5 separate regions of the Homo sapiens genome follow, and all the other regions are linked to region 1. The links are contacts of gene promoters, found by promoter capture Hi-C in human tissues and cell types (Jung and others, 2019). All regions are on one chromosome and are shown on one strand. The core of a region is centred on a gene start or on the middle of the fragment in contact, and the rest is flanking DNA. Distances in the headings are between cores, read along the strand shown.

Region 1 (4,214 bases), core at 2-2,501:
TTGGGCACAGCCCGTTGCTTTCTGTGCTATCCATCTGGGATCCCATGTGCCACGTGGTGGGGGAAGCTAATGAGGGGTCCAGGAGAGCAGGCCAAAGTCCTAGCAGAGCAGGTCTTCCCCACCCCCACCCCTCGTTTTATAAAAGGTGACTATACCTCAAAGTAACTAGAACTGGTTGCAAAGAGTAAAACGAATTCTTATTATTTGGGGTTGTCTGGGATACAGAAAGCTTTTCCTTTGATGCAAGTTTGGGCCAGTTTTTGGTGCTACTCAAGACTTCTCTCTGCCTCCAAGTTTTTTACATCTGAATATATACATATGTACATATGGCTTTGGCATGGCCGAGAAAAAGAATCGATAAGCAAATTCTTTTATGTACTTCCTATAAAAGATACGATACATAAGACAGTTTTTATTTTTTTTTTTTCTCTCTCTCTCTTCCCTAAACAGTCCCGAGGCCCCCTGGGTGCTGAAGGCAGCACCGCAGTGCAACGTGTCCTCTCTCGGTTCCATTTCTGGAGGAGCTGATGCAATTCCAAGGCGCGGGGCTGGGCCAGAGCTCGGTTCTTGTGCTACAGTAGAATAGTGTTCCAGCGTGGCTGCCTCTGCAGCGCCTGGCAATTCTAGAAATTTTGCCATCTGCAGCTCAGCTCAGGAATACTGAGCTTGCAGCCATCAGCTTTGAGTGCCATTATCTGAACCGGCCCTGCGTGCCAGTCTCGAGCGCTTACACCTCCCAGGCCGCCAACGAGGACCCTATTGACTTGATACTCCCCTCCTCCAGGAGACAGTCTCGGTTCCATATGGCTCCAGCTCTTGACCAGGGATCTCATGATTGAAGTGAAAAAGGAAAGGAAGCAGACTCTGTCCTCCTTACCAAGTGACTGTTCCCACCTTGCCATCCCAGCCAGACTTGACACGTCCAAAAACTGCATCCTCAGCCCCCTCCCGGCAGAAGACAATGGCCTGCGTGCCAGTTCCCATCCGGGACCCTCCCCAAGCCCTCCTCTGAGGTCTCTCTGTTTTTGTTTGTTTGTTTGTTTGTTTTAAACGCTGTCTTGGTGTTTAGCAAAGTCTAAGCATCGCTGCTCATCCCCAGCCCCACCGCCCCGGCCCTCCCGCCCCGGAGTCTGGAAACCAGGACAGGGTGACAGCCGGGACGCTCGCCCGGGCCGGACTCACCCGGCCAGTGGAGAAGCGCCGGAGCGCCTGGCTGCCCCGCCGCAGCATGCTGGAGAGGAGCGCTAGCACTGGCGACGCGGCAGCGCGGGAGGCAGGCGGGCGGCGCAGCCTGGGCGCGGCCTGGGCGCGGCCTGCAGTCTGGATGCCCCGGACTGCCTGGCTCGCGGCTCGCCGCTCTCGGCCTCTGCTAGTCCGCACCCCTCCCAAAGCCCACAGCCCGCGGCCCGCCCCACCCTACCAGCTGCAAGGCCCCGCCCCCTAGCTGTCAAGACCCCGCCCCCAGCTGGAAGGCCCCGCCCCGCCAGCTGGCTGCGTTCGGACAGCCAACCTGGTGCGACCCGGCGGAGCGCGTGGGCTTCCTGGAGCCTGTGGGCCCTGACCCTGGTGCCAAGAGCGCACCCAGTCCCAGGGACCGCGCCTCTCCGCTGCCTGGACTTTCCGCCAATTCCAGCCAAGGTCCAGGTGCTTTCTAACTGTGGGACCCTCTACCAGTTACTCAGCCCCGCAGCAGTGTATACGGATCTACCTTATTAGTGGTCAATCTGACATCCCAAGTGCTGTCCATAGCACAGCCCGTAAAAGGCACGCCTGTAGACAGATAGGTAGTGGGGGCGCCTTCGCTGTGGAGGGATCCTGATGCCTACCTCGTAGGACGGTAGGCCGGGCGCGGTGGCTCCCGCCTGTAATCCCAGCACTTTGGGAGGCCGAGGAGGGAAGATGGCCTGAGCTCAGGAGTTCGAGACCAGCCTGGCCACCATGGTGAAACCCCGTCTCTACTAAAAATAAAAAATAATAAAATAATAAAATAATTAGCCGGGCGTGATGTCGCATGCCTGCAGTCCCAGCTACTCGGGAGGCTGAAGCACGAGGATCACTTGAGCCGGGGAGGCGGAGGTTGCAGTGGAGCTGAGATCATGCCACTGCACTTCAGCCTGGACAACAGAGCGAGACTCTGTCTTAAAAATAAATAAATAAATTGGTGCAAAAGTAATTGTGGTTTTTGCCACTGAAAATAATGGCAAACCCGCAATTACTTTTGCATCAACCTAATAGATACGTGCCCTTCTCCCTCACCTCTCTGGAAAAAACGCTCAGACCTGCTTTAGCTGGACGTTTATCTCAAGCCAGACTTCTTAGCCCAGCATTCAGGGCCGTCTGCAATTTGCCATTTTCTCTTATTTCTCACTGCTCTTTTGCATATGTAATTCTGCTTGACTGCAGTTCTTGCCTATTCCTTCTTGGACAATGTTTCCCAGAAAAGCTTGTCATCTGTCACTTGTAATTATCTTGGCACGACCGTTTCTTTTCTGAAAGGTACCGCTTACATGCTGCCTCCTGGAGGCGCTTTTTTCTGATTCTTTTCTCTCTTAGTCTCCTTATTCCCCATAAATAATTGTTCACTCCTCTTAACAGGAAATAATCTTTGTCTATGCATCTGTTATGGCTGTCTCAATCTGCTACTGGTATTTGTATACCTATTAACGTCTCTGTTGGAAGCTCCTTGCAAGCTAAGTCCATGTCTGATTAATCAGGATTTACAGTATCTAGCACTAACCAGAGCTTTAAAAAAATAATAATAAAATAAAAAATAACTTGTTAAAAAAAAACTTGTTGAAACGGATGAATGTGTTTAAGAGAGTAAGGAGACAAAAAAGAACCATCATTAAAACTTGGAGAATTGCGGTTGGGCGCGGTGGCTCACGCCTGTAATCCCAGCACTTTGGGAGGCCGAGGTGGGCGGATCACGAGGTCAGGAGATCGAGACCATCCTAGCTAACACGGTGAAACCCTGTCTCTACTAAAAATACAAAAAATTAGCCGGGCGTGTGGCGGGCGCCTGTAGTCCCAGCTACTTGGGAGGCTGAGGCAGGAGAATGGCGTCAACCCAGGAGGCAGAGCTTTCAGTGAGCCGAGATCGCGCCCCTGCACTCCAGCCTGGGCGACAGAGGGAGACTCTGTTTCAAAAAAAAAAAAACTTGGAGAATTGCAACAAACATCCAAGGTTTTGCTTTGAGCCCTACATCTTGCCAATTCAACCCACTTTCCTGACTGCATTTTGTGACTTCTTGCTTTTTTAAACTTCCAAATATTGATATTCCCTTTATTTATTCTGATCTGTGTATACTAGAAGGGTGCATAAGGAGGGGTTTTTTTTTTTTTTTTTTTTTTTTCCTGAATGAGGTTCCATAGTTATATATTACTATTCCCAAGTTTAGGAAATGTAGAATTTATGTTCACTCAAATATAATGAAATATTCATTGTGTTTACTTTTTCCCTGGAAGAATCAAAAGTATAGTTTCCTTGATAACTGGAAATTAGATCAGATGCAATTAGAGTTTGACAAAGAGACCAACCCCTGCCAATCTATTTCTATACCCAGCAAAAATACTCCTTAAAAATAGAGATAAGACAAAGCCATTTTTAGAAACAAAAACTTGAGAGAATTTGTCATCGGCAGACAGACAATAAAGGAAATATGAAAGAGTATCCTTCCAGCAGGAAAAAAAAATTTACCCACATGGAAACCTAGAAATGCAAGAAGCCCAACAAAAAAGGCAAAGACGTGAGCAAATTTAAAGTGAACATTGGACTGGACGTGGTGGCTCACGCTTGTATTCCCAGCACTTTGGGAAGATGAGGTGGGCAGAGTTCGAGACCAGCCTGGGCAACATGGTGAAACACTGTTTCTACAAAAAAATACAAAAATTATACAAAAATTAGCCAGGCATGGTCACGTGCCTCTAGTCCCAGCTTCTCGGAAGGCTGAGTAAGGAGGATCGCTTGAGCTGGCAGATTGAGGTTTCAGTGAGCTGTGGTTGTGCCACTGCACTCCAGCTGGGTGACAGGGTGAGACCCTGTCTCAAGAAAAAAAAAAGTGAACATTGACCACATGAACAATAATAAATTATTATAATTAATATAATAAAGTATTATGTTTATATATGTATACATGAAAATACACAAATATCCAAACAACAATAGAAAATTGTTGGATAAGTTTGTAGGAAAGAAAATAATCCCAGATGGAAAC
Region 2 (4,335 bases), core at 1,724-4,223, 310 kb before region 1:
ACAAATGGATCAACTGAGGCTCAGAGAGGTTAAGTCACTGCAAAACTAGTATATGAGAGAGCTAGGGTTCATTCAGACCCCATGCTCCTTTGGCATGACACTTGCTCCAAGAGGATTATTAATGAGCTAGACACTGCTCAATTAACAGTCCAGGCCTTTTTTTTTTTTTTTTTTTTTACAAGCCATGTGGATTTTCAGACAGAAACACAGGTAAGGGGCACAAGGAGCATAAAATAGAATAATCTGCTTTTTGTGTGGGTCTGCCATAGCAGAATGCTAACTCTGACACCTGAGCTGTATTTTTCCAAACAAGCCTCTGCGTGTTCTGACAGCATTCAGCCCAAAGCCAGGCACCCCTGTGCTGCAAGCATCCATCAACTTCAGCCTCACTGGCAGACATAGAGAATCCCAGCTATATTATAAAAGAATGAAAGCAGGCGAATTCTCTTGTTAGATCTGTGATTGAGATGAGGCGAACTACAGCAAAACAGCAGGATGATCTTCTGTTGTACTATTCTTATTCACCAGAGACACAAGTCTCCATCAGCGGCAGCAGGATCCAAATGCCAATTCCTTCTTTAAAAGACATTTGCGTGCTTTGGAGAACAATGCCTGTCATTGCTTCAGAACCAAGAGTTGCTCCCGTTTCCCTGCTCCATCAGGAAAGAATAGGCTTTATTCTTCTTCCAGAAATAAACCTACAGCTATAAATTATTAGCCAGATGAGAGTCAATGTACCTTCCTCTTTGAGATGTTGCAAACTCTAAAATTATATTCATGTGATATACCCACGTCTATAGTCTTCCCTTTTGAGCTTACATCTTGGGGTGTTGCCATGAGGTGAATGTTGGAAATTTGGTATCTTGGCACCAAAATCAAGGATTATTCATTATTCATTTAAATGAATTTAAGCTTTCCTTAAAATATTTGTATGTAAAAAAGACCCTTTATTTAAATATATTCCACTGAATATTGAACTCAAAATCATTTTTGTGATCCATTTCTGATTCTTTCCATCGTTTATACATGAATTACATATTTATATGTATGTATCACTTTAGATTATTCTATATACACATTCCTATATATTCTTTGGAGAAATGTTTATTCAAATCATAAATCCTTTATCAGAAATATGTTTTACAAATATTTTCTCTCAGTCTGTGGTTTGCCCTTTTCATTTTCTTAATGTCTTTCAAAGAGCAAACATTTTAAATTTTGATGAAGTCCAATTTATCAATTTTTATTTTACAGCTGGGTTTTTTGTGTCCTGTGTAAGAAATCTTTACCCAACCTAAAGTCTCCAGGATTTTATCCAATGTTTTCTTTTAGAAGTGTCATAATTTTTGCTTTTACATTTACGTTTATGACCATTTAGTTAGTACTGTATATATGAAGTAAGGGTCATAGTTCAGACCTTATAAATATCCAGTTGTTCCATTACCATTTGTTGAAAGAGCTGTACTATTTTTACATTGGTGCCTTTGTCAAAAATCAAGTGATCACATATATGCGAGCTGCTTTCTGGACTCTCTCTGCTGTTCTGTCGATCTATATGCCTGTTCCTATGCCAATATCACACTGCCTTAATTATTATAGCTTTATAGGAGGCCTTGAAGTCAGGTATTATAATTCCCCAAGTATGCTTTTATGTTTTTCTTTATTGCACTGGCTATGACTTCCAATACCAGGTTTAATAAAAGTGGTTAAGAGGAAAGCTTCAGTTTTTTACTATGAAGTATGATTCTAGCTGTAGGTTTTTTGTGGATGCCCTTTATCAGATTAAAGTGGTCAATTTGCTAATATTTTATTTAAATTTTTTCGCCTATGTTCCTAGAAAATATCACCCTATATTTTTCTTGTGATGCTTTTGTCTGGTTTTGATGGGAGGGTAATGCCGGCCTCATAATACAACTTGGGAAATATTCCTTCCTCTTCTATTTTCTGGAGGAATTTGTGTAGAAATTGTATCGTTTTTTTCCTCAAATATCTGGTAGAACTCACTTGCAAAGCTATCTGCTCCTGGAATTTTCACTGTGGGAAGGTTTTTAATTAAAAATTATTTTTATTTAATAGATAAATATTTAATAGATAAATAAAATTATTAATTTTAAGTAAGCTACTTAAGTAATCTAATTTTTCTTGAATGAGCTTTGGTAAAAATACATTTGAAGGAATATATCTGTTTCATCTAAGTTGCTGAATTTATTGGCATAATGTTGTTTATAAGTTTCTCTTATTAACATTTAATGCCTGTTGGATAAGTAATTATATTCTGTTTTTCATTCCCGATATTGGTAGTTGATGTCTTCTCTCTTTTTTCCATTGTCTGGCTGGAAATTTATCAGTTTTATTGATTCTTTCTAAGAACAATCTTTTGGTTTTGTTGATTTTCTCTGCCTTTTTTTGTTTGTTTTTGGTTTCATTGATTTGTGCTCCCATTTTTATTATTTACTTCCTTCTGTTTGCCTTGTGAATAATTTGTTCTTCTTTTTCTAGTTTATGCCAGAACTTTAGATTATTAATTTGAGTCCTTTCTTCTTTACTAATATAAGCACTTAAGGCTAAAATTGTCCTTCTAAGTACTACTTTAGCTGCATCCCATAAATTTTGGCAAATTGTGTTTCCATTTTTATTCAGTTTAAAGTATTTTCTAGTTTTCTTTATAGTTATTTATTTAATTCATAGATTATTAAGTGTGCTGGGAATTTTTTTGATATCTTCATTTTATTTCTACTTAAATTCCATTGTCGTCAGATAACATATTTTGTATGATTTTTGTCCTTTTAACTTCATAGAGACTTGTTTTAAGGCCCAGAATAGGATCTATCTTGGTATATGTTCCCTGTGGACTTTAAAACTATGTTTATTCCGCTATTGTTGGATGGAAGGTTTTATAACTGTCAACTGGATCAAGCTGGTGGATAATGTTCTTCAAGTCTTCCATATCTTATTCATTTTCTGAACATTTATTTATCAATTATTGGAAAAGGGGAGTATTAAAATGTCCTATTATAATTGTGGATTAATCTATTTCTCTTCTCAATTTTTGCTTAATTTTAAAACTTTAAAAATTAGTTGCATACACATTTAAAGTTATGTTTTCTTGATGAATTAACTCCTTTATTATTATGAAATGTCCCTCTTTTTCCCCAGCTGTATTCCTTGTTCTGAAGTCCACTTTGATACTACTATACTAAGCCAGCTTTCTTTTTTCAGTGTTTGCATTATATACCATTTTCTCTCTTTTACTTTTAACCTATCTGTGTATTTATGTTTAAAGTAGCTTTCTTTGTTAACAACCTATATTTGGGTCTTTTAAAATCAAATTAAATTTAATTAAAAAAATTTTTAGAGACAGGGTCTCACTCTGTCTCCCAGGCTGGAATGCATGGTGTGATCATAGCTAACTGCAGCCTCTAACTCCTGGGCTCAAGAGATCATCCTGCCTCAGCCTCCCAAGTAGCCAGACTACAGGTGCACACCCTTTTCCCAAGTAATTTTTTACTTTTTGTAGAGGCGGGATCTTGCAATGTCATCCAGGCTGGTCTTGAACTCCTGGCTCCAAGCAATCCTCCCACCTTGGCCTCCCAAAGTGCTCAGATTACAGGCATGAGCCACCACACTTGGCCAGATATTTTTTAAAAAAAAAATCTAATATGAGAACCTCTTCCTTTTAGTTGGAATATTTAGACTATTTACATTTAATGTAATTATTGATATAGTTAGGTTTAAACCTACTATCTTGTTGTTTTCTATTTCTTATCTTTCTTCCTTTTTCCCTTTTTTTCCTTTACTTTGCTTATATTGGGTATTTTTATTATTCTAGTTTTCCATTTACTTTTGGCTAATTAGCTATTTCTTTGTTGGTTTGTGTTTAGTGGTTGCCTTTGGATTTATAATATGTGTATTTAAACTTATTACAGTCTATCTTTAAAAATTTATGCTATATACACATTTAACACGAGAACCCCACAACAGATTACTTCCATTCCCCTTCTTTTTGCCCTTGTTGTCATATATTTTGTTCTACGTGTTACAAACTATAAAATGTTATCATTTTTGCTTTATCTGTCAATTATCCTTTAAATATGCAAAAAGTGAGAAAGACAATTTAATATCTACCTTCACATTTATCATTTCTGGCCCTTGCTCTTTTGCATAACTCCACACATCTGGTCTCATTTTCTTTCAACCTGAAAAATTTCCTTATTCCTTGTATTATAGGTCTGCTGGCAGCAAATTATCTCATCTTTTGTTTAACTAAAAATTCTTGATCAAATTTGAAAATGTGTGGCCATTACTTGGCCATTACTTCTCTAAATATTCTTTCCT
Region 3 (4,240 bases), core at 546-3,045, 290 kb before region 1:
AAACTGGGCCAACTGCCAGCCCACTGGCCAGTCTCAGGCTTTGGATGGCAACTTACAAAACTGTAAGGTAGGAGCTTCTGCCAACTGGAGACCATACAGGATCAGTTCCAAGTTGGGGCACCCTGCCCAGATGGCACTGCTGACTCCAGCTAGTCTCGCTATCAGTGGGGAGACTTAGAAAGAAGATTTAGAAATTAGGAATTCACTCTAAAGAAGGGGTAGGTGAACGTGTGTGTGTGTGTGTGTGTGTGTGTGTGTGTGTGTGTGTGTGTGTGTGTGTGTATGTGTGTGTATGTGTATGTGCAGGGCCAGATAGTAAAGATTTTAGGCTTTCAGGCTCTATGGTCTTTTTTAAGGCTACTCAATTCTACTGTATAGAGGGAGAGCAGCCATAGGCCATATGGAAATGAATGGACATGGCTGAATTCTAATAAGCTTTATTTATCCAGGCAGCAAACTGGATTTGGCCCACTGGCTGAAATTTGCCAAACTTTGCTATAAATCATGCAGCAAAGGGCCCAGCCTTTACTTGCCTAGTAATGGTGAAATTACAAGATAGGATGACAAGTGCATTTGTAATTTTGTTATATATGGCTAGATTCCCCACTATAGAGCTTTTATTCTGCTCTACCACCAGCAATTTTGTCTCCCTACAGCCTTGCCAAGAGAATGTTTTATCCAGTTTTGAATTTTTGCCAATCTGATAGGTAAGTAGTATCTCAGTGTGATTTTAATTAGCATTTTTTTGAGTGGTATTAAATTTTTTTTTCTGTGAACCATCTCTCCTCTGGTTATTTTACTATTGGGTTGCTGGTATTTTTTCCCTTGATTTATAAAAGTTCTTTGTTTGCCAAGGAGATTAACCTTCAATATGTATTCTGCATTTGTTGGATAAAGTGTTCTACAGATGTCAATTAGGTCAAGGTGGATGAGAGTGTTCAAATGCTTGAGATACCTAGTCGTCATTCAAGTAGAGTTGTCTGGCAGGTATTTGGAAATACAGATTTAAAACTCAGTTGAGAGGTTGGGACTAGACAGTTTTGGAATAATCAGTACAGATGATATTTATAACAATAAGATGGGTAAGATCACATCGGGAAAGAAAGTAGATAGAGAAGAGATGATAAAACTGAGCCCTAGAGCATTCCAACATTTAGAGATTGAGAACAAGAGAAGCGACCAGCAAAACAAACTGAGAAGGGGCTTTTAGTAGGGTAAGGAAAGAAAGCGAAGGGCAGACTTTTGGAAGCAAAGTAAAGAAAATATTTCAAGATGGAAGGAGATTCTGTTAAATGACTTTAGAGATTAAATAAGGTAAGAATTCTTATTAGAAATTGATCATTGGATTTGGCAATGTGGAGGCTATTGGTGACTTTGACAGTGAAGATATGTTTTTGGTAAGGAAGTTTAAGAGGAAGAGAATAATTTTGTATAAGAAAGAATCTTGAGTGGCATATTTTTGTCCTAACATCAAATGACTGGTTATTTAAGAAAGACGAAGTAGAGGACAAAGCAAAAAAGCTAAGCATATCGAGTGTCTGAGTAAATCATGATAAGGTTTGTGAAGAATGAATTTATAAAAGCAATTTTTGTGTGATCATGTTGGTTACAATTAGAAGGGAATTATTTGTAAGTTTTTCTAAAGATTGAACTTTGATATTAAAAATACACTAATACAAAATTAAATTTTTGGTCCCCTATGCTAGAATAGCCAGGTTTTCTCAAATTTTTGATCTGCTCTTAGCAAAAATTACAAGACATTTTTATTTTTAATTCTAAAATCTGTTTCTTTAGCAGGCATTTTCTAAACTGTACAGTTTCTATTTCTGCCACATTTCTTCCTGACATTCATTTAATGTCCCTAGTTTCAGGCTGAAAATGCTGTCTTCATTCAGGTTGGTAATTTCATTTAACAAGGTAGAGTTTTCCTGTTGAAGCTTCTCAGATCTATTTCTCAGAAGTTCGACTTTGGCTCTATCTTGCGACATGTGATTTGCAGGTCATAACATCTTGCCTCCTGTTCTTCTTTCTCTACTTGAGAAGGACTGAGATGATCTCTCTCTCCTTCAACTTTTTTGTCATTCCTTAACTTTTTTCTCCAGCTCCAACTCTGTCGTTATAACCTGACAGTAAAATGCTTATCCTGAAGGCCTGGAAAATCAGTGTTTTCTTCTAGTATAACTTAATTCTGTTGGCTTTTCTTAATGTGTCTGAATTGTTCCATGTAACCAGGAAACTTCTGATGATGTTAGTAAGAGACATATATTCCCCTGCTCAAGGTACTAGTTTTCTTGTTTATATTTCTCTATAATATGGTATACATTCATAACCTTGGGCACACTCTTCCTGTGTCTGATTAAGTTCAAGTACCCTTTCATGAGGTTTGACTTCCAGATTATCTAAATAGGCTTCCCATAAGGAGAAGCAGTTACACTGGAGGAGGTTTTTATTTTTGGTAACTGGCCTAAAAAGCAAATATTTTATATTTACCAAGATAATTTCCTGTTGTTATCTTTATTTTTATTATTATGTAGAAAAATTGAGCTTTGAAAAAGTTGCTTTTTTTTTTTACATTTATGAAACTTTATTGCTTTTGAAGTCTTTGGATTATCACTCTGGTTAAATGAATGGCTATTATTTCACAGTGACCTGCGATCCTGTTTTGATCAAGTATTTTGAACTTTTTGGCATCTTTGGCAGGCTTCTCCAGGATCAACATTCTAAATTAAATCTTTTTGACCTAGAATTAACTTCAGGATTTTCCATGTGGGCCACTGGAGAGCCTCAAAGGATGTATCTTTCATCTTGTAGAGATATTAAGTGACTAGGCTTGTTTGTACGGGAAGTATTGTCAAATGATAAGTGATGCTAGGTTTTCTTTCAGTTACATTTATGGGTATGTTATTGATATGAATGTCCCCAACTGTACAAAACTCTTAGAAATCTAATATCTTATTGGCCATAATTCTGGTTATTATATTGTATGCCATAAAATAACCAAATTTCCTTGTCAATTGCTGATTGTAATGAATCAAAGTCAGATTCTTAACCATGGCTATTTTAAGTCTCTGTCATTCACAATTATTGTTTTGATTTTTCTCCAAAAGCATTTGCAATTAGTTTCATGAAAAATACTCTAACAACTACTCTTAAATACAGGTTTCTAATAACTGTAAGATCAATGGACTACATAAAAAATTTTCAAAAATTTAATGAAGAAACTGATGGGTTCATAAAACAGATAAGATCAAGCAAAACAAAAATTAATTACATGAGATTAAGTAACTGATGAAGATGTTTTTATGTTTATTTGAAACATTATTGGTTCTTAAATGTTTTATTTTCCAGATTGAAGGAACTTTTTTTTTCTTAGTTATCCATAGTTTACAGAAATTTGGTAAAGTGTACTCGTGTGAACAAAGATGGAAGCAATTGCTTTTCTACCTACTTGATGCCTCCAAAATGTGGGAACTATTCATGGTTATTTGCATAAATTCAGTAAAAATCTGCTTTCTATAACTGGATACAATGAAAATACTGGTTATATTACCAAGGCTTTGAGTGAAATAGATTGGAGAATATGCATAGAATACCTGACTTCAAGGGTTCTCAGCCTTACGGTGAATAAAAACTCACTTCCTGGCAGGCTCAGGAGCCTTAGGACTGTAGGTAACATCTAAAGTCTTCCTTAGTTTGGTTTCCTAGCCTCAAGAGGTTTTTAAATCTGAGATTCCTGTGTGATCAACATAGGCAGAAATAGTTATATTTATAAAGAAAAAGCTATAATACATCTGCTATTAGATTATAGCTCTGTGCATTGTTTTCAGGTTCTTATTTACCTATAGAGTAGACTAGATCCTGAATTCTTTTATATTCCTTTAATCCAACTTTCTTCCATGGAATTACTAAAAACAGGAACTGCTCTGTTCCTAAATCTCTATAAGCTGAAATGATAAATTTTAAGGAACAAGTCTTGTGCCTGATGTATGAGCCACACAAAGAGTTCACCAAACTGCCTAATGCCATAACCAGAGACATTCAAACTGCAAACAGGATAAGAAATTGACATTTTCATGCTGTAGACAGCTTTTCCCAAGATATTGGCACAAGACTCTATATCATAACAAGACCCTGACCTCCCTTACTGCTACCTTTTTCACTTGGCTGGATAATGGTGTAAATTTCTTAATCAGTAGCTTCTGCCAGTAACTAGACAGAAACTAATCTAAAAGATTCCTTA
Region 4 (4,057 bases), core at 380-2,879, 300 kb after region 1:
CTCAAGGGCAGTTTCTAAGATCCCACACTCCGGCCGCTATCTCCTCTCTTTCCATCTCTGACTCCAGCCATCTTTTGGCCTTGGGGGCCACTCATTGCTGTTTTCACTGCTAGCCTTTCCTGTCCCTCCTTCCTCAGCTTAAACACCAAGGTCGCTCAGTGTCATCCCTCCTTTGCCTCCCTCTCTTTTGTAATCACTTGCCTGACTACAACCCTGGTTGAAGCCATGTCACTGCATGCATGTGCCCTGGTGATATGGCTGCATAGACAACCACACAGACAGGGACTTCCAGTGGGTCCATAATGCTGCCGGGGCACCACCCTCTATTTCCTGAGCCCATTCATTCTTTCTTTCCTTAGATGACTATTTCCTATCTTCTAGCTTTTCCTCAAACCTCCAACACATCCTCTCATCCTCACTCTCAGCTGTCACCCTTGCTTCCTATCTCACTAACAATGTAGAAACAATGTAGAAACAATCGGCCGGGCGCGGTGGCTCACGCCTGTAATCCCAGCACTTTGGGAGGCCGAGGCGGGCGGATCACGAGGTCAGGAGATCGAGACCATCCTGGCTAACACGGTGAAACCCTGTCTCTACTAAAAATACAAAAAATTAGCCGGGCGAGGTGGCGGGCCCCTGTAGTCCCAGCTACTCCGGAGGCTGAGGCAGGAGAATGGCGTGAACCCCAGGGGGCGGAGCCTGCAGTGAGCCGAGATTGCGCCACTGCACTCCAGCCTGGGCGACAGCGAGACTCCGTCTCAAAAAAAAAAAAAAAAAAAAAAAAAAAAAAAAAAAGAAACAATCGAGCTTCCCCCACGATGGGTACCATTGCTCCCCCTTTCCCGCATTGCATCCCATCCTCTTGCACCCAACCAAGCACTTTGCCCCAACAATTCTCCAACCAGTTCTTCCCGCCTACAGGATTATTTCCATCATCATACAAACATTATTTTATTTCTCCCGTCCTAAAAAAAGAACCGTCTCTCGATCAAATGCCCCTTTCTCTCCTTCCTTTGCCATCAGAGCTCCTAATAAGATTAGTCTATAATCACTGTCTCCACTTTCTCTCTTGAACCTACTCCAGTCAGGTCTTTGCTCCTCTCATTCCACTAAGACTGGTTCTCATGGGCACCAGTGGCCTCCTTATTGCTAATCTAATGGTCAATTCTTAGTCTTCATCTTAATCCTGATCCCTCCAGCCTCCCTGAGACTTCTCCACTTGGCTTCTGGGTCACCGCATTCTCTTGATTGTTTTCTTGCCTCTCTGTCTGCTCGTCCTCAGTATCCTTTGCTGATTCCTTCTGGCATCCAAACCTCTGAACACAGGCGTGCCCACAGCCTTCATCTTTGGACAGATCCTCTTTTCTGTCCATTCTATGTGCTGTTAATTCCTGTGTGCCCTCAGCCTTGACCTCTCCCTAAGCTTCAGTCCTCTATCCAACTGTCTACTTGGTGTCTCTACTAGGATGTCTTAAACCGTATCTCATATTAATAAGCTCATATCTGAGGTCTTGATCTCCACCCTCTACCCCTGTTCTGTTTTGTTCCTTTGCCAACTTCTCCAACTTAGTAAATGGCAACTTCATTCTCCAAGCTGCTCAGGTCAAAAAGCTGGGACTCACCCTGACTCTTTCTTAGCTCTCCCCCATCCCCGAATCAGCAAATCCTGTAGGTGCACGTGCCACCTTCACGTCTCTAGATTTCAATCTCTTCTCACCATCCCCATCACGTCTATTCCATTGCCACCATCATCTCCATCCTAGATTACGGCACTAGCCTCCTTCGTTCCTTAGCCCACCTCAGCCTGTTCTGAACACAGCAGCGAGAGGGATCTTGTTAAATTCCAAGTCAAACCCTCCAGTGCTCCCCTTCTCTTCCAGGGAAAGTTGAATTCCACACGGTCCTCCATAACACATCTATCTCCTCCTCCCCTTCTGATTTCGGTTACTCCTCTGACATCACTTACACACATTACTCTTCTCCTCTCTGCCTTTCTTCGGCCACACTGATTTTGCTTTACCTCGAACTTGCCAACCAGGCTCTCATCTCACACCTTCTCACTTGCCGATCCCTCATGTCTGCAATCTTGTCCTCCAGATATTTGCACGCCATCTCCCTATTTAGCACTTTACTCATATCTCCCCAGTAAGCCCTTCTCTGCCCACCCCATCTAAAATTCACGCCCCTTTCACCCAACACTTCCAGTTGTTATTGCTAGATTTATTTTTCTCATTAGCATTTACAATGAACATGCTGCATACTTTACTGATTTCCCTTGTTTACTGACAGCCTCCTGCACAAGAATGGAAACTCCAGGAAGCAGGAATTCCTTATCTCACTTGCTCATTGCTGTATCTCAGCACCCAGCCCAGAGCCTACCACCTAGTAAATGCCTAATAAGTATTTTTTTGAGTGACAAGATACTAAATATGATAATTCGCAGCCTTGGCATGAATGTGGCCAAATGGTCACTCTCATCTTTGCTTGGAAGTTTCAATTACTAAAACCTTTCTAGAGAGCAGTTTGGCAATTTGAATCAAGAACATTTAAGGCCAGGTGCGTTGGCTCATTCATGTAATCCCAGCACTTTGAGAGGCCGAGGCGGGCAGATCACTTGAGCTCAGGAATTTGAGACCAGCCTGGGCAACATGGGAAAACCTGGTCTCTACAAAAAATACAAAAAGTAGCCTGGTGTGGTGGCTCTTATCTGTAGTTCCAGCTACTCAGGAGGCTAAGGTGGGAGGATTGCTTGAGCCTGGGAGGTCGAGGCTGCAGTGAGCCATGCTCGCGTCACTGCACTCCAGCCTGGGCGACCCTGTCTCAAAAAAAGTGTGTGTGTGTGTGTGTGTGTGTGTGTGTGTGTGTATAATGAGATGTAGAGACTTACAAAAGGAATGTTCATCAAAGTTGCTTATAGTAAAGGGGAGTTGGAAACCATATAGTGTCCAACAATAAAGGGCTGCTTAAAAATTATGAATCAGCTATACAAAGGAATATTGTAGAGTCATCAAAATTATACTTTTATGCGTAATTTAATGGGAAAATGTGCATTGTCTATTTCACAAAACAAAGATATTAAATTTTGTATAGAATTATCCCAGATATATATGAATGTGTGTATATATGTATACATGTGTACATATATATGTATACACATGTACATATATATACACATGTACATATATATGTATACACATGTACATATATACACACATGTACATATATGTATATATACACACGTACATATATGTATATTTGTATACACATGTACATATATACACACAAATATAGTATATCTATAAGAGAGACAGGAAATACTGGCTTTCTGTTTGTGATGAAATGCAAATTCCTTATGTATTTTTCCAAAATGTTTAAAATGAGGCTTTTGTAATCAGAAGTATATAAGCCCCCTTCCCCCAAAGAAAATGATTATTCTACTGCCCGTCTTGACTGTATTCTTACTTGGGGGCAGGGTGGGTGGCGTGAACAGGGAGAGCTAATCTCTCCTTCTTTCTGACTCATTCCACAGTCAATCCTTTTTCTTATTATTTTCCAAAGGCATGAGGACCTTCCATGTTCCGAAACCATTGTCCAGAGTATTTCTTCTGGACTATTTTCCACTTCCTTCCATCTGACCGGCCAGCTGTTCTGCATTTGTAAAAGCTGGTTTCTGATGTCATCTCTAGGCAGGACCGCTCCCTCCCTCTCCTGCACTCCTATACTTCGTGGCATATCCGCCCCAAGATAACACTTGTCACTCTGTTTTCCAAATTCAGTTTCATTCATTTGCTTCACATGTGCACTGAGCCCACTGACTTCTTTCCCTGTCTGTTGCCAGCACTGGAGACCAAGCCTGCACGCTTTGGCCCAGACCATCTCATTCACCTTTTAACACAGAATCAGGGTGAGTGGAGAGTGGGGGAGTGGTGTGGTGGGTCTTTGCCTCTCGCTGTTCAGTGAACTTCATGCCTGTCCTCCTGATCCCCAGCGCTAACACAGGGTCAGGCTCGCGGGAGTGAACAACCACCATTTATCTCCGGCTTGTTGGGGGAAGCCC
Region 5 (4,050 bases), core at 176-2,675, 270 kb after region 1:
TTGAAGTTTGTTTTTCCTTTTGTCTTTTTTTAAAAATTATTTTTTGGCATGGAGGAGGCATGGATATTGCTGTAGGCTAAAAGACAGGAACCAGGCGAGTAAGAAAAGCTGATGGTGGTTTGGGGAGGGGGTTTCTCTCTGGTGGTGGAGAGAATAACGATGCATGTAAATCCTATGACAGGCTAGAGAACTCAAAACCTAGCTAGGTTAACCTTCAACACTTGAAAGCATGGTTGACAATGTCTAGAAACTTAATCACCATAAGAAAAAGCCTACATGTGTATCAGAAAACAAGCCTATTTTTCCCTCTCTTTCTGTCTCTTTGAAATTAAATCACAGTGCAGTAACACACTGAACAAAACAAACAAAACAGTGAATTCAAGGTAATGACATTCGGCCGCTTTCACAAACCTGCCAACATCAACCATGTTCTTATTTTAGTGTGGCAGATTCTCAGCTATTTGGCACAAATAGGCTGCGTTGGGATATTTTTGGTAGGAAATGGCAGAAGCCCAGTTTAAACTGGCCTAAACAAACAAACACAAAGGAATTTATTGGCATGTGGAGTGGAAAAGCTCCAGGGACTTGGCTGTAGTCACAGCTGGATCCAGGTGATCAAACAACAGGAAGAAATTCTCTTCTCTGCTTTCGTCTTCATTCTTAGGCAGCTTTCCTCAAGTGGTGACAAACAGGACCAGTTTATATCTTATCAGCTTCCTAATTCCTGTGGAAAAAAGCAGCTTCTTTTTCCTTGTAGTTTGATCAAAAGTCCTAGGGCTGGGCTCTCTTGGCCCGTTGGGGTCATGTTCCTATCTCGGAATCAGTCAGTGGGCCAGGAGAATGTGGGGTGCTCATTGGCCAGGCTGCAGTCATGTGCTCACCACTGGAGCCAATCAGTATCATCAGCCCCACCTTACCATATGGCCAAAGAGCAGAAGAGGGGTGATTCCCCACGGAAAAATTGGGATGCCGTTACCAAAAAAAAGGGGAGAAATTGTAAGTGGGCAAACCGAAACAATTGGAATTTAATTGAAAGCATTTTTTTTTGTAGATCAATTTTCGTGTTCTTAAAGAAGTCTTGATTTAAAGCTTAAGCAATATTTATAAGAATATTATGACTACGTTTCAAATAAGAAACAGTATTAAATAAGTTGACTCAAATATAATGTTTGCTGTTGAAAATAAAAAACCATAGCTACTCAATGTAAACAATGTAATTCAAATACTTCTTTCACTTAAAACATGTAAAGTGAATCTTACTGAGATTCTTTCCTTGGTAAAGCTATTTTATTATTATGGAAGGTAGCAAATACAGGGAAAAATATTTTGGAATGAAATGACATAAAACCCATTGGCAATTTGTTTTTGTTTTTGTGTTTGGAAAAAAGAAATGATAAATCTTTTATGTTGAGTTTCTTGGGATCCTTTATAAATTTACCATGTCTAATGCACCCATGTCAGCTGAGCCCTCTCTGCTCCTCATAGATACAGACCTTAGGGTATCTGATGGGCTCTTTTCTCATCCATGTAGTAGAAGGTAACGCTGTCTTCTGAGGGTGAAGAGGATGGGGTTGAAGTAGCATTGAAAAAGCCTGCATTTTGGAAGCAGAGGGACTTGTGTTTAAAATCCCCTTCACCATTTGCTAGCTGTGTTACATTGTGTCCTTAGTATAATTATCTGTGAAATTGGGATAATATAATAACTGTGCAGGGTGATCATCTTCATCATCATCATTCTTACAGTAGTAGCTAATCTTTACTGAGGACTGTGCACCATACACTGATTTCCAGCATTTTCTGTACGTTATCTCCTTCCATACCCATGATAATCTGATGGACAGAATAATGATGTTTCATTTTACAAGTGAGGAGGTGGGGAGCACAGAGAGCTGAAGTAGCTGCTGGAGGGACAGATTACAAATACAGTATATTTAATATCCTAGGAAAATACTTGGCATTATGCTTGTTGCCCCCGGTGAATGACAGCTAGAATTATTAGTTAGTTTAAAATGTTGTTGAAAAAATTTGGCAGGGCCTCTGACATGAATACTTGATGGCAGAAGACCCAGCATATTGAGGGCCTTGCTGTGGTTAGAAATCATATATTCCCATTGGTAGCCATGATGAGATTTTCCTTAGGTCGGACCCTGTGAAATAGGAGCAGGAAGAGAGAGAGCAGATGGACGGATTCATCCAGGGATGGAGAGGAATAGGTGGTGACCAGCAAGTGCTGCAGAAATACTTGACTGCAAGACATGTGCTAGGGAGAGAGGGAAGGGAAACACGAGGGGCTGATGGATAGGGAGGACGGGGAGGGATGGATGAACTGGAGCTGATGTTGCAATAAGAAAGCAGCCTTCTTGGGAATGATGGGACTATCGAAAGGAGGATTTTTTTTTCCTCCCTAGGGAGTGGGATTTTCTACTCTAAAATGTGGTAAAATAGTTCCAGGAACTATACTCCATGGAGCAGCCATCGGAGTATGTTAGCGGAGCAGCACAGAAGTTGTTGGGATAGAGGAAGTCAGCAAAATATGAGGTGAGAGGTTGGATGGGTGGTTTTCACGAATTTCTTTTTCTTTTTCTTTTTCTTTTTTTTTTTCAGAGTTTTGCTCTCTTGCCCAGGCTGGAGTGCAGTGGCACTATCTCAGCTCACTGCAACCTCTGCCTCCTGGGTTCAAGTGATTCTCCTGCCTCAGCCTCCCAAGTAGCTGGGATTACAAGCGCATGTCACCACGCCCAGCTGATTTTTGTGTTTTTAGTAGAGTTGGGATTTTGCCATATTGGCCAGGCTGGTCTCGAACTCCTGACCTTGTGATCCGCCCGCCTTGGCCTCCCAAAGTGCTAGGATTACAGGTGTGTGCCACTGCACGTGGCCATTTTCATGGAGTTTTAAATTGACCAAGATAATGGTGCTTAGAAAGAAAAACTTTGGGTCAGGGTCAAAATCTTTGGTGCTCTGGGGACAGTTATGGCAGGGTTTAGACTCCAGAGAGGAGAGGTTCTGAGTGAAAATGAAATGGCCCCACCTGTAAGAGCTCTGTGGGGAGATGAGGAGCATGCTGGCTCTGTCTCCTGTTAGGAGAAGCTAGGGTAGGTGAGAACAAGATGCATATTCTTGAGGTTTTGAGAAAAGTGGTGCCAGCAAGGAAAAGCCAAATTTCTTAAGGTAAGGAGATGAAGAGTGCACCCTTGCCTTATAGCAAATGATATTTTTACAACCAATTCTGAAATAATTCCTAACACTGTGTGCCCCTTAGTAAGAGAATAACTGGGGGGAGGAGAGCTAGAGAGGACAGGGAATTTGCAGTCTGGCTCTTGATCTCTTGCTTCTGGATAAAGAGAAGTTGAAAGCATTCCTTTGAAGTGAATGTTACTCATGTTCTCCAGTCATACACTCTGGAAGAAAGAAAGGGACTAATATTGGCCAATGGGCTCATCCAGGGAGAGAGATCAAAAGAAAACAGTCCAAAGAAGTTTTGAAATTGGAAAGAAATGAATGATATTAAACATAGGCCAAAACAGCCAATGGTAAAACATAATTCATTGTGTAATTAAGGGTTTGCTAGAATGGATTGAAACCACCCCAAGGAGCAGGAACCATCATGAAAACATGTTATAAAGAAAATTAAATAATTATATTTTATCTGGAGAATTGTAGTGTAGATGGAAGTAAACACAATCAATTAATAAACCTATTCCAGAAGGTTATCATGAATGGTAACTAGAAACAGATCAGGAGAGCCATGGTCTCCAGGGTTTCCATATTCAATTTTTACTGTTTACGAGTCAAAGTAAGTTTAGCCTCTTTAGTGACACTGCAAATAGGGAAAAAGAAAAGACTACAGGCTTTTTTTTTTTTTTTTTTTTTGCTTTTTAGATCATCTCTAATAAGAATAGCTGTATATTTAGAACATTTTTCTTGATGAATAAGTAAAAAATAAATCATTTCTTTGCCACATAACTTTGTTAGTTCTAGAAGCCTAAGGGAAGTGAGAACTTTCTGAATTTTCAGGTAAGTTGTAGCAAGGATGACTTGGGAGCTGCTGTT

What was found. Contacts are between HindIII fragments. The study calls those that stand out against the background at their distance.
Region 2: a contact is called between a fragment that was not itself captured here and the fragment with the promoter of ALDH1L2 in region 1, in 5 of the 25 tissues and cell types used here (H1 embryonic stem cells, heart left ventricle, lymphoblastoid cells and 2 more).
Region 3: a contact is called between a fragment that was not itself captured here and the fragment with the promoter of ALDH1L2 in region 1, in 7 of the 25 tissues and cell types used here (adrenal gland, aorta, liver and 4 more).
Region 4: a fragment that was not itself captured here is called in contact with the fragment with the promoter of ALDH1L2 in region 1 in 2 of the 25 tissues and cell types used here (adrenal gland and lymphoblastoid cells).
Region 5: a fragment that was not itself captured here is called in contact with the fragment with the promoter of ALDH1L2 in region 1 in 1 of the 25 tissues and cell types used here (lymphoblastoid cells).

Annotation. Positions count from the first base shown.
Region 1 is chr12:105,083,207-105,087,420 of GRCh38, forward strand. It overlaps ALDH1L2 (aldehyde dehydrogenase 1 family member L2), which reads right to left and starts at 1,252. Exons shown (of 23, transcript NM_001034173.4): 1 at 1,183-1,252. The coding sequence starts at 1,230. RefSeq lists enhancers at 95-895, 390-629 and a silencer at 1,130-1,559. The HindIII fragment of the contact is 4,053 bases long and covers 1-3,475 here.
Region 2 is chr12:104,768,832-104,773,166 of GRCh38, forward strand. No RefSeq gene overlaps it. Among named protein-coding and RNA genes, the nearest start is that of MIR3922, 180 kb to the left of the region's middle. The HindIII fragment of the contact is 6,951 bases long and covers 1-4,335 here.
Region 3 is chr12:104,796,038-104,800,277 of GRCh38, forward strand. No RefSeq gene overlaps it. Among named protein-coding and RNA genes, the nearest start is that of SLC41A2, 160 kb to the right of the region's middle. The HindIII fragment of the contact is 7,020 bases long and covers 1-4,240 here.
Region 4 is chr12:105,379,267-105,383,323 of GRCh38, forward strand. All of the region lies in intron 1 of LOC105369957 (a long non-coding RNA gene), which reads left to right. Among named protein-coding and RNA genes, the nearest start is that of C12orf75, 51 kb to the left of the region's middle. The HindIII fragment of the contact is 7,784 bases long and covers 1-4,057 here.
Region 5 is chr12:105,352,591-105,356,640 of GRCh38, forward strand. The region is part of intron 2 of C12orf75 (chromosome 12 open reading frame 75); the gene reads left to right. Among named protein-coding and RNA genes, the nearest start is that of C12orf75, 24 kb to the left of the region's middle. The HindIII fragment of the contact is 4,396 bases long and covers 1-3,623 here.